5 separate regions of the Homo sapiens genome follow, and all the other regions are linked to region 1. The links are contacts of gene promoters, found by promoter capture Hi-C in blood cells and fetal thymus (Javierre and others, 2016). All regions are on one chromosome and are shown on one strand. Each heading gives the region's core, a stretch centred on a gene start or on the middle of the fragment in contact. The rest is flanking DNA. Distances are from core to core; before and after follow the strand shown. Region 1 holds the start of RWDD4 (RWD domain containing 4). Region 2 holds the start of CCDC110 (coiled-coil domain containing 110). Region 3 overlaps SLC25A4 (solute carrier family 25 member 4). Region 4 overlaps CFAP97 (cilia and flagella associated protein 97). Region 5 holds the start of CFAP97 (cilia and flagella associated protein 97).

What was found. The method cuts DNA at HindIII sites, captures the fragments that hold promoters and counts their contacts. A CHiCAGO score of 5 or more calls a contact.
Region 2: the fragment with the promoter of CCDC110 here is called in contact with the fragment with the promoter of RWDD4 in region 1 in 6 of 17 cell types (total CD4 T cells, naive B cells, activated CD4 T cells and 3 more); the score reaches 10.7 in total CD4 T cells.
Region 3: a contact is called between a fragment that was not itself captured here and the fragment with the promoter of RWDD4 in region 1, in 1 of 17 cell types (total CD8 T cells). The highest score is 5.4, in total CD8 T cells.
Region 4: a contact is called between a fragment that was not itself captured here and the fragment with the promoter of RWDD4 in region 1, in 1 of 17 cell types (non-activated CD4 T cells). The highest score is 5.2, in non-activated CD4 T cells.
Region 5: the fragment with the promoter of CFAP97 here is called in contact with the fragment with the promoter of RWDD4 in region 1 in 7 of 17 cell types (naive CD8 T cells, total CD4 T cells, naive B cells and 4 more); the score reaches 10.6 in naive CD8 T cells.

Annotation. Positions count from the first base shown.
Region 1 is chr4:183,656,800-183,660,948 of GRCh38, forward strand. It overlaps RWDD4 (RWD domain containing 4), which reads right to left and starts at 2,386. Exons shown (of 8, transcript NM_152682.4): 1 at 2,130-2,386. The coding sequence starts at 2,153. TRAPPC11 (trafficking protein particle complex subunit 11) reads left to right here and starts at 2,494. Exons shown (of 30, transcript NM_021942.6): 1 at 2,494-2,648. RefSeq lists enhancers at 1,593-2,381, 2,296-2,425, 2,382-3,169 and silencers at 1,901-2,121, 1,936-2,145, 2,516-2,805. The HindIII fragment of the contact is 5,102 bases long and covers 1-4,149 here.
Region 2 is chr4:185,470,198-185,474,459 of GRCh38, forward strand. It overlaps CCDC110 (coiled-coil domain containing 110), which reads right to left and starts at 1,536. Exons shown (of 7, transcript NM_152775.4): 1 at 1,477-1,536; 2 at 748-852. The coding sequence starts at 1,486. LOC105377590 (a long non-coding RNA gene) reads left to right here and starts at 1,234. Exons shown (of 2, transcript NR_133944.1): 1 at 1,234-1,563; 2 at 1,918-2,066. RefSeq lists a silencer at 1,121-1,750. The HindIII fragment of the contact is 5,122 bases long and covers 1-4,262 here.
Region 3 is chr4:185,145,047-185,149,272 of GRCh38, forward strand. It overlaps SLC25A4 (solute carrier family 25 member 4), which reads left to right. Exons shown (of 4, transcript NM_001151.4): 2 at 1-204; 3 at 713-853; 4 at 1,768-4,226. The coding sequence ends at 1,925. Among named protein-coding and RNA genes, the nearest start is that of SLC25A4, 3.9 kb to the left of the region's middle. The HindIII fragment of the contact is 1,469 bases long and covers 857-2,325 here.
Region 4 is chr4:185,181,401-185,185,622 of GRCh38, forward strand. All of the region lies in intron 2 of CFAP97 (cilia and flagella associated protein 97), which reads right to left. Among named protein-coding and RNA genes, the nearest start is that of CFAP97, 20 kb to the right of the region's middle. The HindIII fragment of the contact is 974 bases long and covers 2,473-3,446 here.
Region 5 is chr4:185,201,846-185,206,058 of GRCh38, forward strand. It overlaps CFAP97 (cilia and flagella associated protein 97), which reads right to left and starts at 2,155. Exons shown (of 5, transcript NM_020827.3): 1 at 2,053-2,155. It also overlaps a transcript of SNX25 not described here. RefSeq lists silencers at 1,688-2,457, 2,067-2,238 and enhancers at 2,998-3,107, 3,218-3,307. The HindIII fragment of the contact is 9,685 bases long and covers 1-4,213 here.

The DNA.
Region 1 (4,149 bases), core at 1,136-3,635:
CGGATCACCTGAGGTCAGGAGTTCGAGGTCAGCCTGGCCAACACGGTGAAACCCCATCTCTACTAAAGACACAAAAATTAGCCAGGTGTGGTGATGGGCGCCTGTAGTCCCAGCTACTCAGGAGGCTGAGGCAAGAGAATCGCTTGAACCCAGGAGGCGGAGGTTGCAGTGAGCCGAGATCGGGCCACTGCAATCCAGCCTGGGCTACAGAGCGAGGCTCCGTCTCAAAAATAGCAACAACAACAGCAAAAAGACATTGTTGAAGAAACAGTGTGTGAGGAACTGGGACATTAAGGAGTAGACCCTAAGACCTAGTAAGTATATGAAAAACAAGATATACCCTTCTTAGATAGGGAAACTTGATTGGCACAATGAAGAAAGGCATAAAACACCGACTATATAGATTTCAGCCAGGCTCCACAGGTTTCTCTTGCTACCTTTACAGAAAAAACAAAAAAAAACAAAATACAGAAATTCAAGCCGGATTCAAGAATAACTAAGATTAGATTGGAACAAAAACCTTACTCAAGATATAGTACTACTCCTTCTGTCCCTAATCCTTTCCCATATTTTAATTTATGACTTGGACAGGTACAAAAATAGGAGGCAAGTTTATTAAATTTGTGGATGACAATTTGTTGGGACAGTGAATAATGCTGATGGCTGAATAAGAATCCAAAAAGTCTTTGAAAAGCAAGCTAATGATGAAATTTAGCAGGGTAAGTAGAACTTGTATCAATACTCAGATACCTAAATGTAGAAGTTGAAGATGAAAGACAAATTGCTTTGTATAAAGCACTTAAAAGATTTCAGTTGACAGTAAATTTAACTAGACAAAACAGCAAGATGCCACAATTTTGAAACAGGACATTTAAAAAATTAAAATCTGTCCACAAACACGTGATTCCAGGATAGTGAAGAGATTAACAAAGAATGGATATATGAAGACAAGCTAAAAGGAACCACTTCCTCAGAGAAGGTCTGAGAAACTGGGCAGGAAACTATCTTCAAAGATCAGAACATCGGTCATCTGAAAGAAGAATGAAATTTTCTTGTTAAACTGGAGATTCCTGGGCCCACCACAGAAATTCTGATTCAGTAGGTCTGGGGTGGAGTGCACGCATCTGTTTTCTAGCAACCATCTAAATGGTTCTAAGGTAGGGGACTATGGTCCAACTCTGAGAAACATTACACTGTATGTTCTTTGCTTTGCAGGGAGAAGAAGCTATTAACGCATTCACTTAGAAATTCACCCGGCAAGAATATTTTAGAAGAGATTCAGATATCAACTAGCTAGCTTGTTGGACTTTGGGTCCTTTAAAGGTTAACTTCCAATCCAGAGATTCTATTACATTTATCATGTAAAAGTAGTAAGTTTCAAGCATTATACTTTAAATTAACAGTGAACTTATCTACCACCCAATAAGACCTGGTTTCTAGTCCCGATTCTACCACGTACTTACTGTGCAGCCCTGCGGCTATCATCGACCCACCTATCAAAGTTAGAAGGTTCCCCTACAGATGGCCCGTAGCACCCACCCCCCAACTCTAATATTATATGATTCAATGTCAAAATGGCATCTCACAAGGAAATATTTGAGCATAAACCATAAATTCAGGTGGTACATGAATGCTCAAAACAGACAGATGGGTAAAAGATTTCCCCAAACAATATGGACAGAAACTCAGATGCACCACCAGTGTCATTTTCTTCCATGAGAAATGTAACTAACTCAATTAGCCCTCTACTAGCCAAGAGATTTAAAGATGACCAGACTAAAATTTAAAGGTGATCAGCCTAACTCAGTAAACAGGCACTGAACACATGGGATTCAAGGAGAGCCAAGAGCACTGGATCGTGCACCAAGGACGCTCATCCCTGTTATTAAGTAACCAGGGGAGACTCCCGGATTTGCAAAAATGAAAAATGAGGGGGGAAGAGTGGCAGAGGCGGACTCCTGGCCATTCACGCGCGCTTGGGTGGGACGCCGGTGAACTCGGGGCACCCCGGCCGGCTCCGAGGGCACAGGGCACGTGCCGGGCAGGCTGTCCGGGCACCAGGTCTCACGGGGGCCCGGGGCTGCGCGCCGCGCCCGCGCTGGGAGAGGGCCCTGAGCCGGGGGGCTCACCTCCTGGTCCTCGTTGGCACTCATCGCGCCGGTCGCGGGGCGCCTCCTGAGCGGACGGCGTTCGCAACAACGAAGAGAAAGCGAAGGCAGCGGCCCAGAGGCCGGGCGTCCCCCTTTCGCGCCTCGGCTGTGGGGGCGGCACAGTCTTGGCACTGGCAGACGCCAACTGCGCGCGCCCCGAGCCTCGGCAGCGCCCAGCCGCCGGCAGTGGGCTGTGGGCTACGAGCCGGAGCCGCGGCTGGTGGGGCCTGGGAAGTGCAGCGTCTCCCTGACGCTTGGAGGAGCGGCGTAAAGTTCCGGGACAGCGATTGGTGTAGAGCGCGGTCACTCAGGCCCAGAAAGTGCTTCCTGTGCCGGGGGAGGTGGGTACAGGGAAGTCTCGCCTGTTGGAACTGGCTGTGGGGCTGCGGCGGTGGGGACGGGCCACGGCGTTCTGTGACATCCCCCCGCCTCCCCTCGTCTTCTCCCGGCTGGCGGCGACCGGCCTCAGCTGCAGCGGGCCCGGGGCGTGGGGCCTGGGTGAGTCCGGGCCCGGAGACCCGCGGGGCCAGGCGGGACCGCCGAGGAAGAGAGCTAGCTCTTAACAATGCTGGTTTGGGGGCCTGCGTTTTGCAATCCCATCGACGGGTGCAATCCTGGCACTTCTCTTTTAGACCCGAGGAAAGACGCACCCGTTTCTAGGGCCTCCCAGGTTTAAGACGGGGGAATAAGAGGAGGAAGATATCTGCCTTTAGGGACTGCAAGGTTATTTCTCTACCTTTCCTCACTGGAGCTACCAGAACAGATACTGGGACCATGGGGACGGTGTTTCTCCTACGTTGGATTGTTGCTTCTCATCTTTAACATCGAAACATCATTTCGTCCCCACACTGTCGTTCCTCTTTTGTTCGTTTTGTAGTTGAACATCTCTGAATCCCATTCTTAGCAGCCTTGTGTCCTAACACCCTGAACTTCCAGTTAGTTAAAAGAAAAAAAAAGTAACCACATTAGGTTTTGGGGTTTTTTTAGTTGCCAATTTGATTGGGTCACCTTTCTTATCTTTCACGCTAGTTTCCAGTTTACTTCCCTTGCATTACTTGATCTCCCATCCATTATTCACCTTCTATAGCTGCGCCTCCTTTCGTGTATAGTTTCGTTGGTTGCTCCATTGGATATCTGAAAATTTCTCCTTCCAGCCTGTCATTGAAATCCATTCGATCTGCGCCTGTGCGTTATCGGGGTTCTCATTCAAATTCCTTTGCTGCAGAATAAGCACGACCATTTCAGGTGACATAGGAGAATGTGGCAAGACTTTCTGATACAATTTTCGTGCAGCAATTTTGGGACACATTTCCCATAATTTAGATCTCTGCTGTCCAGTTCTGTAGCCAGTAGCTACATCAGGCATTTGAAATAGGCTAGTCTGAATTGAGATGTGCTGTGAGTGTGAAATACACACCAGATTTTGAAGACTCAGTACAAAAAAAGGTAAAATATGTCATTAATAACTTTTATATTATTGTCAGTATGATAATATTTTGGACATACTGTACTGCGTTAAATTGAATATTAAAATGAATTCCATCCACGTTTTACTTTTTAATATGACTGCTAGAAATTTTTAATTTATTTATGTGACTTGTATTTCTATTGGATGACAGTCATTTTTAGTTCCTCTTATTTCAACTCCATATTTAAAGACCACAGCTATGTCTTTTGGGCCTCTGGAGTTATTACAGGAAATGGCCTCTAGTCTAGACTCGTTCATATTAAGCAAAGGGGCCCGTATTGTATTTTGGTCACTTGTTTTTTGTTGTTGTTGTTGAGACGGAGTCTTGCTCTGTTGCCCAGGCTGGAGTGCAGTGGTGCGATCTCGGCTCACTGAAATCTCCGCCTCCCGGGTTCAAGCCATTCTCCTGCCTCAGCCTCCCGAGTAGCTGGGACTATAGGCACGCATCACCATGCCCGGCTAATTTTTGTATTTTTAGTAGAGACGGGGTTTCACCCTATTGGCCAGGCTGGTTTTGAACCGTTGACCTCG
Region 2 (4,262 bases), core at 286-2,785, 1.8 Mb after region 1:
TTTAGAAAAGGTATACACCCCTCCCTGGATATCCACAGGGGATTGGTTCCAGAGCCTCTGCGGATAGCAAAATCTGCAGATGCCCAAGTCCCTAATACAAAATGGGGTAGTATTTGCATAGCTTCTATGTGTATCCTGCTGTATACTTTAAATCATCTCTCGATTACTTGTAATACCTTATACAATGTAAATGCTATGTAAATGGCTGTTATACTGTTCAAAATTTGCATTTAAAAATTGTGGTACTGTTATTTTTAAAAATTTTCCCCCCTGAATATTTTCCATCTGTGGTTGGTTGAATCCAAGGATGCGGAACTCCCAGATACCGAGGGCTGACTGCATATCGTTTTAGTGTGTGTCCAAAAAACTCAACAATTCTTACTTAGCATTCAGAGAAGCAACGGAGCGTAGCGTGGTGGTGAAGACAGGCAGTCCGGAGCCGCCCTGCTGAATGCCCGCTCCATTCCTCGCTGCCTGTGTGACCTTAGGGAGTTAACCTCTCTGTGCCCGTTTCCTTATCTGCAAAATGGGGATCGTGGTAGCACCCACCTCGTAAAAGTGTTGTGAGAATTAAACAGTTGATCCATTACGTGCTTAGAACAGCACTGGCACAAAGCGCGAGTGCCGTGGTGGCTGCTGTCCGTGTCATCACGGCCGTGGGAAGCACGCCAGGTGAGCAGGTGGCACAGGCCAGATGCTGCCGCCTGTGTATAGTTAAAGGAGCCTTTTACGGTCTGGCGATTTTACCTGTGTCACTGCAGCCACTTTCCTTCACCCCCTCCGAAGAATTTAGGATCTTGGACGCTGAAAGGAGAACGGAGTCAACTTCATCCTCTTCCCGGTGCTGCTTTTCTGTAACAGAACCGTCCGGGGCTGTTCTGTCGCGGGTCGTGGCGTGGCGGGGCTGAAGGTGGGGGCGGGGCAGAGGGATGGGGCGGGGCAGGGCTAACGGCTGGGGCGGGGCGGAGGGAATTAGGAGGGGGCGGGGCTGAAGGCTGGGGCGGGGGGGCGGGGAGGGCGGGGAGGGCGGGGCGGAGGGAATTAGGAGGGGGCGGGTTTGAAGGCTGGGGCGGGGCGCAGGGATGGGATGGGGCGGAGAGACTGGGCGGGACCTGTGGGGGCAGAGGAATGGGGCGGGGTCAAGGCTGAAGGCTGGGGCGGGGCGGAGGGATGGGGCGGAGGGACGGCATCAGGCCGGGCCTGGGGCGGGGCGCGGCGCTTTCCGCAAGCGGCCACCCGAGGGCGCGCTGGGCGGGCGGCGGCGGCAGACCACGTAGCCAGCCTGTAAGCCACAGCGGACGCAGGGGGCCGCAGCGGGTGCTCAGCCCTAGGGCCGAGCGGGAGATGTGCGGCGAGTGCAGAAGGGCGGACCCGGGATGTCCCGGGTTTTCGAGCGGGGAGCCGCCTGCTGAATGCCCTTCTGCTGCCCTCCGTTCCCGCGGCTCCCCTAGGAGCCCCGCCCCGTCCAACTCTTACCCGGGCTCATCGCCGCGGCTCATCTCTCTCGCAACCGCCGCCGCACGCACCCGCTCCGCCGCCCCGCGCAGGGCATCCTGTCGCCAGGTAACCGGGTGGCCGGGGCGCCGGCCCCACCCCCACCCTCGGCGGCGCGCGCTCGGCTGGGGTCCCTGGTGGGGTCCCGGTGGGTCCCTCCTCACTCCGGACGCTTCCCCGAGAGCTTCCCTGGGAACCTGGCCTGGGACAGCCCACCTGGGCGCCTCCCCGCACACGCGCGCGGCTGTCCGGGACGGGCTTGCTCACACTCGGACTCGCTGCGGTACCCGCCGGACCAAAGCGGTGCGGAGAAAGGGACCGCCCGGGGACGGACACACGCCTGAGAGCTTTCCCTTTGCCTTTCCACATCTCCACTTCATCGCTGTTGTTTTTTTTTTTTAATTCTTAGTCCTCTCATTTCAGCGCATCCCTCAGAGGAGTTTCAGCATTTGGGGATTTGAACGGCCCATGACCAATATTGTGAAAGGACTTTTGTTTGCTGCAATGAAAAGAAGACTCCTATTTTTCAATAATGAATTAACCTAAACATGTATTAAAATATGCTCATGAAAGCTGTGGGAAGCGACGGTGGGCTTCCTTTGTCTAAGCATGTTAATTTTTACGCACCTGGTGTATCACGTGCAGGATTGATGTTGCGTTCACGGGAAACCTGACCTCCTTTAACCAAGGACTGGGTGCGTGCCCCCAGCTAATCCTCCTGCCCATCAGAAAATGGTGCTCTTTAAAGTTTTAAACGAGTATATATTATTTATTTTGTAGTAAACCATCACACATAGAAAATTAAAATTCAAAATCACAATCACCAGGATATCATAATTTGCTATATAATAACATATAATATATAATAAGTAATACATGATGGCTTGCTTTCATTGAAATGAAACTTCTTATGATAGTTTCAGTGCTTACTTCCTCTAATTTGTTTCTTATAGAAATGGGCTCTAGTGCACGCGCCTGTAATCTCAGCTACTCAGGAGGCTGAGGCAGGAGAATCGCTTGAACCCAGGAGGCGGAGGTTGCAGTGAGCCGAGATGGCGCCACTGTGCTCCAGCCTGGGCAACAGAGCCAGACTCCGTCTCAAAAAAACAAAAAAAAACAAACAAAAAAAAAAAAAAGAAAAGAAATGGGCTCTAGGTCCGGCATGATGGCTCACACCTGTAATCCCAGCACTTTGGGAGGCCGAGGCGGGTGGATCACCTGAGGTCAGGAGTCCGAGACCAGCCTGACCAACATGGTGAAACCTTGTCTCTACTAAAAATACCAAAATTAGCCAGGTATGGTGGAGTACATTCGTAATCCCAGCTACTCGGGAGGCTGAGGCAGGAGAATCACTTGAACCCAGGAGGCAGAGGCTGCAGTGAGTCGACATAGTGCAACTGCACTCCAGCCTGGGCCACAGAGCGACACTCTGTCTCAAAAAAAAAAAAAAAAAAAAGAAAGAAAGAAAGAAAAAAATGGGCTCTAGAAGATTTGACTTTCTTGTGGCATTGTAGACAATTTTAATAAATTATAATTTTGAGAATTTATGGTCTGCATTGCTGATTGATATTGATGATTCAGGAGATAGAAATTATTTAGGCAGATAGGGCAAAAGAGTCTTCAGCAGAACTTCTAACAAAAAACAGCTCAAGAAATCATTTTTTTTTCTAACAAAGAGCAGCCTGAAAGCCTGCAAACCTTGCAAAGATAGATCAGGAAGCTGGAAGCGTGCACACCAGGGCGCAGGGGGTTGGGGGGCAGCGTGCGGGTGGATGCCAGCAGCTGCGCTGATAGAAAAGGGCTACCTGGGGGCCAGGCATGTCCACCATGGAATCTCCATCTCCCCTTTTTTGTTAGCACGTGTACAGTAAGAAAGAGATGGGCGATATGGAAAAGCTCAGTCAGAGAACCCACCTGCGTAGTAAAAGATTGGGGTGGGGGCTGCCAGAGATTCATGCCCTATGCAGATGGCACACCTGGTCCTAACTGGTTTTTCACGCCCTATGTAGATCAGACTGCCTCCCCATTAGCTCATCTATAAAATTCTATAAAAAATATTTCACAGCGAATTGGCAACCCGGGGACCCCTTTCTGTAGCGGAGAGCTTATTCCCTTTCTTGTCGCCTATTACATTTCGGCTCTTAACCTCACTCTTTGTGTGTCTGCATCCTTGATCTCCCTGTGAGACAGCAAACCTTGGTGTCAGCCCACACAATGAGGCTGCTTCATTGATAAAGTTAATTTTTTTCCTGAGAGCTACACAAGTTTTCAGCAATATGTTTGTGAAATTACTACTGTAAATAAATTGCATTCCTTCAAAGGGTGAATGACAAAAAGCCACTACATTTTAGCAAGTCTGTTTTTATACTACTGAAGTTTCCACAATTAATTACTATATTGTATTTTATGTAATGCTAATTATTAATATCTAATCATTTGATAATTTATGTAATAATGTGTAATAACTCTAATTTGTCTATGTAATATTTGTGGACTATGATGACAAATTAATATCGGTTATTACATAGAAATTACTTGTGGATTTTTGTGGGAGCACTCAGTCATACCATTTAGTGTAGAATATAAAAAGCAGGTGATAGATGCTACAACATCAAACTCAGATTTAGCCAGTGCACTAATCTCAATAGAGAGTTACTTCCATTTTAAGCTACTTCCTAATCCATTCATCAGTCAGAAAAGCAGCTCTTTAGTTAGAAGGACACTTTATTTTAGATGTCCTATAAGGCCTTTTGATTATCACACTCATT
Region 3 (4,226 bases), core at 341-2,840, 1.5 Mb after region 1:
ACCCGCTGGACTTTGCTAGGACCAGGTTGGCTGCTGATGTGGGCAAGGGCGCCGCCCAGCGTGAGTTCCATGGTCTGGGCGACTGTATCATCAAGATCTTCAAGTCTGATGGCCTGAGGGGGCTCTACCAGGGTTTCAACGTCTCTGTCCAAGGCATCATTATCTATAGAGCTGCCTACTTCGGAGTCTATGATACTGCCAAGGGTGAGAGAGGGGCATCGGGGAGAAGGAGGGTGGTGTGGAAAGAGGATCCTATGGGATCTATAACTCACAAAGGACCTGATATATATTGATCTTGTTTTTTCTAGTCTCTGGGATAATTGAGGCTTCTGAATGAGGAGGTGATGTGCATAAGTTAATAGCTGAAGCGTTCCTTGTGTCCTCTACTGAAATAAACTCTGGCCTTTAGTTATTCAGAGAGGAGGAGGGGGGAGCCTGTCTCCCTCTAGACACAGCCATAGCAGTTACTGAGTTTAACTTGAAGCCACTTCCAATGCCCTGTATACAAGCTGAGCACTGCCCCTCCGGGGTCCGGAGAGGGCAGCAGCCACCTTTGCTGTCTGCCTGGTCATATGTGAAGCACCTGCACAGGGGCAGGTTCCCCGCAAGGTCAGAGCATGGAGCTGGAGGTGCAGTGGCCTCTCTCCCTCCACCTGCTTTCTGCTGAGAACAGGCACTTCATAGCCGTTCGGCTTCTGGGCTCTGTCCACAGGGATGCTGCCTGACCCCAAGAACGTGCACATTTTTGTGAGCTGGATGATTGCCCAGAGTGTGACGGCAGTCGCAGGGCTGGTGTCCTACCCCTTTGACACTGTTCGTCGTAGAATGATGATGCAGTCCGGCCGGAAAGGGGGTAAGCTTGTGCTCTACTCATCTAAACTTGTTTGGTTTTGCCCGAGGAGAACATTTTACAGGGCTCCTTTCAGTCTTCCTTACTGGAAATTAATTTTCAAAATTATTTGATAAGGACTTAGGGAAGAAAGATGGTATTAATTCCCCCTAACGTTCTCAACTATCCTATTAGGGAAAAGTATTTTCCATTTTATTAGAGATGATAAGAACATGAATAGTAAGACATTTAGATGTGAATTTAACTAGGTATCCAGCATTATAGAGACCCTAGGCCCTCTTCCCTTAGAGCCTGGGTGCAAAAGCTAGGGAAAAGAAGTAGTTAGCTACTTCTTACAAAGAACTCTTGCTTCCCTCCTAGTTACAGGTGTTAGTGGGATGGGGTGTTTAGCTGGGTAGAGATGGCCTGAAGCAATCTGTTGTGCCAGAGAAAGTTTTGGCTTCTATAGGTTGAACCATACGAAATTGCCACTTTAAAAGTCAAAAACAGTCCAATGTTAGCAGTTTCGTATGTTTCAACGAATAGTTACAGCCTTTTATTTAGACTGCATAACCTCGTGCAGGATCATCTGAGGCTCGGCCTCAGTTCGGTCCTCCATAAAAAAAGGTAACCGCGTAGCATAATACTCCTGCTCCACTGCGCCCTTCTTGTTTCGCAGTTGGGCAGTCCATGAATTACTTGGTTAATTGCCCCAGTTCTTCACTGACCTTGAACTAATGGAGTAGGAATGACAGGAGACCCAGCCTGCCAGTGAAGCAAGGAAGGAGATGTCCAGTGGGATGTTGCATGGAGCTGGGACTCCATGCCCAGATGACCCTGATTTTATAAAACTGGTAACAGTGTGTACAGATATGTTTCAGGGGAAAAGTCTCTTTCCTCCAGCGTTACGGAGCCCTCACCAGCATTTGTTTCCACAGCCGATATTATGTACACGGGGACAGTTGACTGCTGGAGGAAGATTGCAAAAGACGAAGGAGCCAAGGCCTTCTTCAAAGGTGCCTGGTCCAATGTGCTGAGAGGCATGGGCGGTGCTTTTGTATTGGTGTTGTATGATGAGATCAAAAAATATGTCTAATGTAATTAAAACACAAGTTCACAGATTTACAGTGAACTTGATCTACAAGTTCACAGATCCATTGTGTGGTTTAATAGACTATTCCTAGGGGAAGTAAAAAGATCTGGGATAAAACCAGACTGAAAGGAATACCTCAGAAGAGATGCTTCATTGAGTGTTCATTAAACCACACATGTATTTTGTATTTATTTTACATTTAAATTCCCACAGCAAATAGAAAATAATTTATCATACTTGTACAATTAACTGAAGAATTGATAATAACTGAATGTGAAACATCAATAAAGACCACTTAATGCACGCTTTCTATTTTATTGAACTCTTATTAACTGTAAAATGCATTTTTAAAAGATCAAAAATGCATATTTTCTAGCATGATTCATGTATCAGTCAGCAGCCAAGCTTCTAAATGCCAGATATTATATTGAGAATGTATTATATGAGAACGTACAATGCTTAAAGTTCCGGTTTTCAAACTTAGGCAGGTCATATTCTATCTATCTTATCCAGCATTACTGTAGGCTAGAAAGTGATAATGGCTTTCATAATCCTGCCTTGTCTTAGGCACTTTCCTGCAGTCTTTAGAAATTCTAAGATTCTGCTAAAAGTTTTAAATCACAATCTGGAGAATTTTCTATGATTAGGAAGTGCTCTGTTTTCATCCCTTTAGATAACTGTGACACCTAGAATTTTATGTTAAGTAGAGAGTATTCATTGAAAATCAAGGCCAGGTGCAGTGGCTCACACCTGTCACCCCAGCACTTTGGGAGGCAGAGGTGGGCGTATCACTTCAGGCCAGGAGTTTGAGACCAGCCTGGCCAACCGAGCGAAACCCCATCTCTAATAAAAATACAAAAAATTAGCTGGGTGTGGTGGCGCACACCTGTAATCCCAACTACTCAGGAGGCTGAGGCATCAGAATCACTTGAACCCGAGAGGCAGAGGTTGCAGTGAGCTGAGATGGCATGCCACCACATCCATCCTAAGCGACAGGGCAAGACTCTGTCTCAAAAAAAAAAAAAAGAAAGAAAATCAGTTGTCTTAGTTTAAGCTACTATAACAAGGTACTGTAGACTGATGGCTTATAAGCAACAGAAACTTATTTCTCAGTTCTGTAGTCTGGAGGTCCAAGATCAAGGTGACACTGTGGTCAGGTTCTGATGAGGGCCCTCTTCTGGGTTATAAACTACGGACTTCTTGTATCCTTACATGGCAGAAAGAGCGACAGAGCTCTCTGTAGTCCCTTTTATAAGCTCACTAATCCCATTCATGAGGGCCCTACCCTCATGACCCAATTACCTCCCAAATGCCCCTCCTCCAAACACCACCACTTTGGGGGTTAAGATTTCAACAGATGAATTTTGAAGGGACACAAACATTCAGTCCATAGCATCACTTATCAAGCTAGTATTTAATACCTCTTAGGCCCCGTGGAAGGGAAAATAGATAGGAACCTGCCCTGAAAGATGCTTCAGTTGGGGAGAAAAGGTGAAATTCCATTGTTAGACAATTTGTTTAAGACAATACATCTTGCTTGAGAAGGAATAGAAGGGAAATGAAATGGGGGGAGGGAGTGGTAGGAGATGGAGGCTTTGAAAGAAAATAACCAGATTTAGAAACATGGGTATAGAAAGCATCCTCCAGTACTTCTGTAACAATTTATCAAGACCTACAGGAAGTCAGTTTTGGATTTGCTCCTCCGAGATTTGCGAGCCAGAGGAAAATACTTAGACTATCAGGTTGGAAAGTTCACACTTGGACCAGGAAAAGACCAAGCAGTTGCTATAGTCTCCTGGATTGTGACTAATCTGGAGGAAGCAAGTCCCTGTATCCTTGGCAAAGCTTGAAAGGCAGGCAAATGTCTTCTCTGTGTTTTCTGACAGGTGGTTGGGTGGTGGGGGTTGGTCTCTGTACCTCCTGTTCTTTACCTTGCTTACCAAGCCCTTCCACCGACTCACTCCTGCCTCCCCAGCTAAAAATTGGCTGTGTTGCTTTTACCACAGTTACCAAGGTCTGAGTTTTATAAAATCCAGGATCACATCTGACCTCACCTGGTAGATATCTAGGCCAATAAAGTCTAAAGGGCTAAAAAGAAGGTACCTCTCCATCCTGTCTCCTCGAGGCCAGGCAGCACATGTGCAGTTAAGAGGCCTCCTGGATCCATTGTCCTCCTGTTGCTTTTCGTTCTAAGTGATCCAAACTCTATTGCTGATAGGGAATAAAAGCAGGGCAGGCTAGTAGTGGGCAAGTGCTTTGATGGAGCGTATCTCCAAGCAGGGCCCAAGTTTAGGAGGAGGAAGA
Region 4 (4,222 bases), core at 1,710-4,209, 1.5 Mb after region 1:
CTGCAATCTCCGCTTCCCAGGTTCAAGCCATTCTCCTGCCTCAGCCTCCCGAGTAGCTGGGATTACAGGCATGTGCCACCACGCACGGCTAATTTTGTATTTTTAGTAGAGACAGGGTTTCTCCATGTTGGTCAGGCTGGTCTCGAACACCCGACCTCAGGTGATCCGCCCGCCTCGGCCTCCCAAAGTGCTGGGATTATAGGCATGAGCCACCACACCCAGCCGGCATAGTCTTAGTGAAAACAGTTTTGTCCTCAAAGATCCTAAAATCATCAAGCTTGCTCTTTTAAGAGTTTGAAGTATTACATTCTTCAGCTATGAGTCTGGTGCCTCTCTGTTGGTTTTTGCTTTTCTTAAATGTTTGGCAATACTTGGTAGTGTGTTGAGGGCATTGAGATTTCCTGCAGTTTGCCAGGAAGAAAGGATAAAATGTGCTGCCAGGCAGGACGTGCTGGTAGCTAATCTCAGTATGGGCATCTCCTTTCTTATGGAGCATAACAGGGTCTGTATCTTCCCTTGAACAAGGCACTTCACTTCAATCCCTCACACGTTGGTATCACTTTAGCAAAAAATTTAACCAGTTTCTTTGCTCATCAATGCTTCTTCAATCCCATTTCTTGTATTTATTTTTCTTCTCAAAATACATCCTGTAGTGATTATTTCATAGTTTATATAGTAGATTTTGAGGCCATGTATTTCTAAAATATTTTAAATTTTTGCTGTTTCAGATTCTTTTTAAAGTGACCTAATTTTACCTATACAAAATATGAAACATACCTTTAAATCTAGTGTGGTCAACGTCTTCAATGCTCTCCAAATCGGTGAGATTCATACCATAACTTGATGTCTAAACTTCTGTTTACTACTCCATTTTTTTAATGCCCTCTCTGCCTATTCAGGGATTTACAGGTCAAGATGAAGGATCTAATTCCAACCATTTTTTGACATTTACATAGCAAAGGCAGCTTTGCATGGAGGTGGAAAATTCCCCAAGTCAGCCACCCTTGAGCTAAAAGAGGTTGAATATTCAGAAATTCGACTAATCTTTCAAGATCCACTTCAAAGTCCTGTATCTAATACTGCCACTATGCAATGGTCTTCCCTTCTTCCACTATTTCTCACAGAACCCGAAGAACTCTGAAGTTAGAATGGACCCTAGCAACCTATATCAACAATCTCCTCCTACAAATAGAGTGCCTGAAGCTCAGAACAGTTGCTGTCTTGTTTGTGATCATGTCGGTAACACCCAGAAGCCTAAGTTTTATTCCACTTTCAAAACTGTCTTTACCTTGGTTCAACACTGTCTCGTCATTCCATGCCCTATACTGGTAGATTCAATTTTACATTCTTTTATCAATCTTTGTTTCATAGGCTTAATATTTTATAGTTCAAATTTCTATTTCATAAACAACAAACGGGCTGGGCGTGGTGGCTCATGCCTGTAATCCCAGCACTTTGGGAGGCTGACACGGGCGGATCATCTGAGGTCAGGAGTTCACGACCAGCCTGGCCAACATGGTGAAACCCCGTCTCTACTAAAAATACAAAAATTAGCTGGGCGTGGTGGTGCCCGCCTGTAATCCCAGCTACTCGGGAGGCTGAGGCAGGAGAGTCACTTGAACCCGGGAGGTGGAGGCTGCAGTAAGCTGAGATTGCGCCACTGCATTCTAGCCTGGGTGACAGAGCAAGACTCCGTCTCAAAAAAAAAAAAAGGTTCTTTTAAACCAATAAAATGTTGATGTGGTTGGCTATACAGGTATCCCTCATTATCTGAACTCTCACCTAATATGGCTGTTAACTTGCAAAATTTTTTACTTAGTATTCACTACCTTAAGCAGTAAACTGGTTTACCGAACCTCTGTACTGAAGTCCGTGAAAATGTTTAAACTGAAAGGATGCAGAGAGTATGCTGCATTCCTGCCTCAGCTGTGCTCTGATGGGCTCACATGTTGTCTTCACCATCATCCTCCCCATACTAAGTGGATTTATGTTCCAGGAAGTAGAAAAGGCAGTGAAGAAATTAGGTAAGCCAAAGCAGCCTAGAAAAGCTTATTTAGTGTAAGTTAGAAGTGATAAAGTGTATTGAGAGATGAATGCAGAAAAGGCACAAGCCTGGCTCTGCATTCATATCCACCTACCATGACCACAGTTGCAGTTATATGGTGGAAAATAAAGAAAACATAGGAAAATAATTTTGGATCTGAAATGCTTCACTGTGTAAATCGAGCATGAATGATAATTTTGAAAAATGATTGCAATACCTTATATAATAGACTGACAGTCCTAATTAGTGTTTAAAATGCTTTATTATTATGAAGAATCCTTGGTGGATTGTTATATTATGGACTCCAATAACAGATGTACCAACTGGCAAAATGCCATGTTTGTTCCTGCGCCTTAAAAAGCCCTGAGCGCCACCTACTGGCAAATCTCTTCTATCAGGGGTTCTTTACTATGCAGTACTATGAATAAAGCTTCCCTTCTACATTTTAGCTCAGCATCTGTGTTAAATGCTTTTTAACAGTATTTCAATTTAATTATAATTGGGGAACTGTTCAGGAGTTTGGGGTAGGATTATTTTTCTTATTTAAAAGTTAAAAATATTTAGGTTCTCTATATCTAATTAAGTTTCAGAAATGGGTTAGACAGGAAGAGTGAAGAATGCTTTATTTTCAATGGAACCAAATAGTTTACTCAGTGTCTTGATATTCAGACCATGGTCCCTAGATCTGCAGCACGGGTATCACCAGTAGGGGCTGATTAGAAATGCCGATTTAGCTCTTACCTTAGTTTTACTGAACCCAAATCTGCATTTTAACAGTATCCCTGGGTTAACCGTATGCATACTGAAGTTTGAGAAGCTCTCTTGGACAAAGTTGGCTGCCCAATTACTGTATATCTATTTTCCTCCTACTTCACAGATCCCTGACTTCCAGGGTGAGCCTGCTTGGCCCAGGATAATCCCATTTCCCCTACCAACGACTGGTTCGGGAATGGGAGCGTAACCAGTTCTGGGCAAGGAGACCTATGTGGATGTTGACTGGGCCAAATTTCTTTAAGAAGTTTCCTCCATTCCAAGAGTCAGAGAAGAGACACTGTCTCTTCCTCTGGACACTGTTGTGTCTGAAGGTGAACACTGAAAACGGCTGCAGACATCTCCTAGCAGCCTAAGAACGAAGCCAACACCAGGGCTGGAGGAACACAGTGCTAGAAAGTAGGTCCCTGATGAAGTTTTGAGCCACTCAATCAACCCTGAAGTCTAGCGTGTCTTTGGGTGACCTGTTATATGAGAAATATTGTTTCATTCGGAATTCCCTTCTTGTATTCAAAATCCTGGATAATCACTGATGACTCTGAACAAAAAGCCCAGAAATCAGACTATTTTCTATTAGATGGTTTTTAAAAACTTGACAATTCTAAGAGTTGAGTGTTTTCTTCCTGTAAGAAGCTTTTTATTGGCTGAAACAATACCTTCCTTTTGTATGCTCGTTTTTTAATCCTCTTTCCTAGGATACAGTGGGGTTTATAATTTGTGGGAACAAATAGTACTTACAAGATTTTAAAAAACGGAAGTGTCCCCTTAAAAATAAAAATTATGATTTAGTCAAACAAGCCCATATTTAAAAAATAAAGCCCACTAGACATATTGAACATTTTAATTTATCTTCTAGAACATTTCTCTTTTCAACCCATTTTTAACCTAATTTTATAAGAACAATACTTTTTAATGCCAAACAATAGGCTGCAACTTTTTAACACGTTTCCCATTTGCCCCAAGAAATGAGTGCTGGCAGTGAGCTGTACTTTTTTTTTTCTGAACAGGAAATGGGTTCAACACATACAAATCACAGTAAGAATTATGAACGAAGAGCAATGCAGCAATAGAAATTTGATGCACAAGAAAAAAGGCAAATATATCAAGATATATGTTATTACACAATATTAGTGAGCAATCTGCATTATCTCATGATATTTTATGATTTAATTTCAACCACCATCCAATTTTTGCATTACAAATATAATTTTAAAGAACAATTCTGTCACTTCAAGGAAAACAGTTGACAGTATTTATTACCAATAATAAAATTTGAGCTTTTTAGCAAAAAATAGTATTTTAGGTAAACTTGTATCTGCCACCATGAGTTTGACAGCTTCTCAAGAGCTTTCTGATGAGGCTGGTAGTGATATTAACAACTATGATTTCTATATAATGTATTCTGAA
Region 5 (4,213 bases), core at 905-3,404, 1.5 Mb after region 1:
CTTCATGTCGTATCTCCACAGTTTATCATCTTTTAAACACCGTATAGAAACTTTCTGGCCTATCCACTTCTTTTCTAGGAAAGCCCTGTGTCATTGTAAAAATTAACATAAAATACGTATGCCTTTTCTCCTGTTAATCTGCCTTACAGCCCCAGCTGCAGACCCAGCTAAAGGAAAAAGGATTTTTGTTTTTCCCCCCATCCCCTACACTTGTCTCCTTGCCAGACTGGGAGCTCCTCGTCACTTCCTCATCTTTATAACCCCAGTACCCAAAGGAGAACCTGATGAATTTAGTCATTCAAAGAATGTTTATCCCACAAAGGAGTTTGGAGTTAGGAGATTTAAGATTGAGCCATGCTCTTTGCTACCCACGAGGGTAGAAAAATCGCCTTGTATGTGTGTGGCTGGGCATGGAGGCTCATGTGCGGTGGCTCATGTTACAGTCTCATGCCTGTAACTTTGGGAGGCCCAGGCAGGCAGACCACTTGAGCCCAGGAGCTTGAGACCAGCCTGGCCAACATGGCCAAACCCCACCTCTACAAAAAATACAAAAATTAGCCGGGCGTTGTAGCTCTCGCCTGTAGTCCCAGCTACTCCGGAGGCTGAGGTGGGAGAATCGCTGGAACCTGGGAGCTGAGGCTGCAGTGAGCCGAGATCAGGCCACTGCACTCCAGCCTAGGCAACAGAGTGAGATCCTATCTCAAAAAACAAACAAACAAAAAAAATCACCGGGTTTCAACCCAGTTTCCTTGATAGTTTCCTGCCATCTTCCCCCACCCCTCCGGAAGCACAAACCACAACTATGCCTTTATCTGCATTTCCATGATAAGGTCATGCAGTCCCCAAGAGCTGGAAGCCAGCTGCCTCCCTAAGTGGTCACAGTTCATGCGCCCTGGTGCATAGTCCGGTGCCTGTGAGACTTTTCAGGTTTAAATTTTAGTTAATAATATCCAACAGAGTTACTGTAAAGATTTCGACACTCATGTGACTTAATTTACAGGAAAATTTACCCAACAATCCCATCCACTGAGCAATTCTTTTGATAACATTTACTACGAGGTAAGTGATTCAATTTACCAGAGAATAAGAAAAATGACTTAATAAAGTAGTTAAGATTCTCTTTACAACAGACTAGGAAAGGATAAAATTAAAGGATAGTTCATCAGACCATAACAACCCTTTGGTGCTCAATCAAGACAGAGTTTTGCCAGGAGGGGCATGGCTCACGCCTGTAATCCCCGGACTTTGGGAGGCCAAGACAGGAGGATCGCTTGAGCCCAGGAGTTGGGAGGCTGCAGTGAGACATGATCGTGCCACTGCACTCCACCCTGGGCCACAGAGCGAGACCCTGTCTCAAAAAATAAAAATAAAAAAAAGAGACAGGTAAGTTTTTATCAAAGCTGCCTGAGAGTCACTGGGCACGCCCCACTTGCCAGGTCCTACAGACCAGCAATAACAAGACTAATGCTTTCACCAAACATCAGGAAAATACACAGAAAAGCACCGGGCACTTTTTAAACTGTCATCTTGTTACTGTGACAATACATTTCTGTAGTTAAACAGCACAGTAGGCCTCCAACAAGATGCCCAATTGGGTACATGAAAATCCCGGCCCAAATTAAACACCTGTTTCCAGGAACGCTAGGCTCTTGTCTACATCCCCTACCGTCCCCGGAAGGCAGATAACCCCTCGGGCCTCGTGGGTTAGGTTCGAGTCCCTACAAGTAGGAAGAAGTCGTCAGGGCCCGGCATGTGGTCGCGGCCCAATCTCAATTTAGGGCTGATCCTGACCCTCAAAGCCACCCGGAACGCGCGAGAGGGCGGGACCCGCCATTCTCACAGGGGACCGGGGTGGAACGGCGCCGCGACCCGCCGCCGCGGGCGCCCCTGTCGTGGGGGCGCGGTCTCCCACCGTCCGCGCAGGCTTCGTTAAACCCACCCCGAGTACTCGCCGCCGCCTGGGCTCCGGAGCGGGGAGACGGATGCGAACGGAAAGGAGCGTGGCGGGCGCCCCGCGAGCAGGGAGCCAGGAGCCGCTCGCGCGCCCCTCACCTGAGAGCCGCGGCCACCACAGCCCCACGCGCGGCGCTGGCGCACTCCCGCGGCCCTGAACGGGCTCCCGGCGCCGCGCGCCCGCGCTTCCGGAGGCGGAGAGAGCGGAAAGGGAAAGGAGGGGCGGCGTGGGGCCCGGCGCTTCGGGAGAGGCGGGGGCGCACGCCGGGCCTCGTGCGGCCCTCGCGGCGGGCGTCACAGAGCGCGGCGGGCAGGCGGCCAGGCCGGGGCTCCACGCGGGCGGAGTGGAGGCCGGGCCAGGGACGCGCACACTAGAAGAGCCGCGGAAGAAGGCGGTCCAGCCCGCGTGGTTGCCATGGCGCCCTAGAGGCGTTACTGCTGCTCCCGGCTGCCTAGGGCGGCGCGGGTAGGCCCCGTTGTTCTCGTGCGTTAATAGGGAAAGCTGCCTTGATTATCTTGTAATTCTCTACCAAACCAAGAATAAAAAAGAACGGCGGCTGTGTGTTTGTGATATTTTCTATCAGCAAATTTCAGTTCATACCACTAGTTAGTTCTGTGGACCAGAGGCTGGTTTCAGAATGGAAAGACCTTTGCCGAGTGGTAAACGAGGTGGGTAGTTAAAACAATCTAAGGTAAAAATGATCTCTGCAGAATATATTGAATACAATAACTTCTCGTTGAACTCTCAGGTATGGTAGGATGATGGCACCCCAAAAATGTGCACCTCCTAGTCCCCACAACACGTGAATATGTCACCTTATGTGGCAGACAGGATTTAGCTGATGTGATTAAGGATCAAAATGGGAAGATTAACCAGGATTATCCAGTGAACCCCATGGAATCACAAAGGTCCTTATAAGATGGAGACAAGAAGTTCAAAGTCAGTAGTGGGAGCTGTGAGCACAGAAGCTAGAGGTTGGAGTGATGTCAGAGGCAATGAGCCAAGGAGTGCAGGTAGAAGCTGCAAAAGGAGGAAACGGATTCTCTCCTGAAACCTCAGGAAGGAACTAGAGCCTGCAAATTTTGATTTTAGACTTAATACCTTAAGCACTGTAAGACAATACACCTGTGTTGTTTTAACTACTGAATTTGTAGTAATTTGTTATAGCAGCAATGGTATACAATCCAGTAGTTAATAAATATTGTTCACATCTAAGTGCAAAGAAGGGTAGGAAATATGGGTCTTACCCTGCCTGTCCCGGGGAGTTCCAGTAAGGATTGTCTATTTTCGTCCTTCACAATGCATTTTGTACTTGTTGGTCTTAATTACCAAAAGTATAATCAATTCTCTTTTTGTTGCCTAAAAGACAGCATTGGCTGGGCGCAGTGGCTCACCCCTGTAATCCCAGCACTTCGGGAGGCCGAGGCGGGTGGGGCCCCCTGAGAGGAGTTCAAGACCAGCCTGACTAATATGGTGAAACACTGTCTCTACTAAAAATACAAAAATTAGCTGGGCGTGGTGACGTGAGCCTGTAGTCCCAGCTACTCGGAAGGCTGAGACAGGAGAATCGCTTGAACTCCGGAGGTGGAGGTTGCAGCGAGCCGAGATCGTGCCACTGCACTCCAACCTAGGCAACAGAGTAAGACTGTGTCTCAAAAAAAAAAAAAGCAAGAATTTCACTTTCTTTTAAAGTGCTTAATAAAACTGTGTTGGCACCACTTTCCAGGGATAGTTGTTAAACTGTGGTTGGCCCGGCGCGGTGGCTCACGTTTGTAATTCCGCACTTTGAGAGGCTGAGGTGGGCGGATCACCTGAGGTCAGGAGTTCCAGACCAGCCTGGCCAACATGGTGAAACTCCGTCTCTACTAAAAATACAAAAATTAGCCAGGTGTGGTGGTGCACATCTGTAATCCCAGCTACTCAGGAGGCTGACGCAGAAGAATCGCTTGAACCCAGGAGGGAAATGTTGCAGTAAGCTGAGATCACGCCATTGTACTCCAGCCTGGGCGACAGAGCAAGCCCCTGTCTCTAAATAAATAAACAAACTGTGGTCAAAAGTTTATCTTACAAAGGACTTGAGTAGATATTTCTCCAAAGAAAATATACCAATGGCCAATAAACACATGAAAAGATACTCAACACCACTAATTAGGGAAATGCAAGTCAAAAACACAATGAGATACCGATGGCTTTAGTCAAAAAAATAGAAAATAAGGATTGGCAAGAATGTGGAAAGATCGAAACCCTTATGCATTGCTT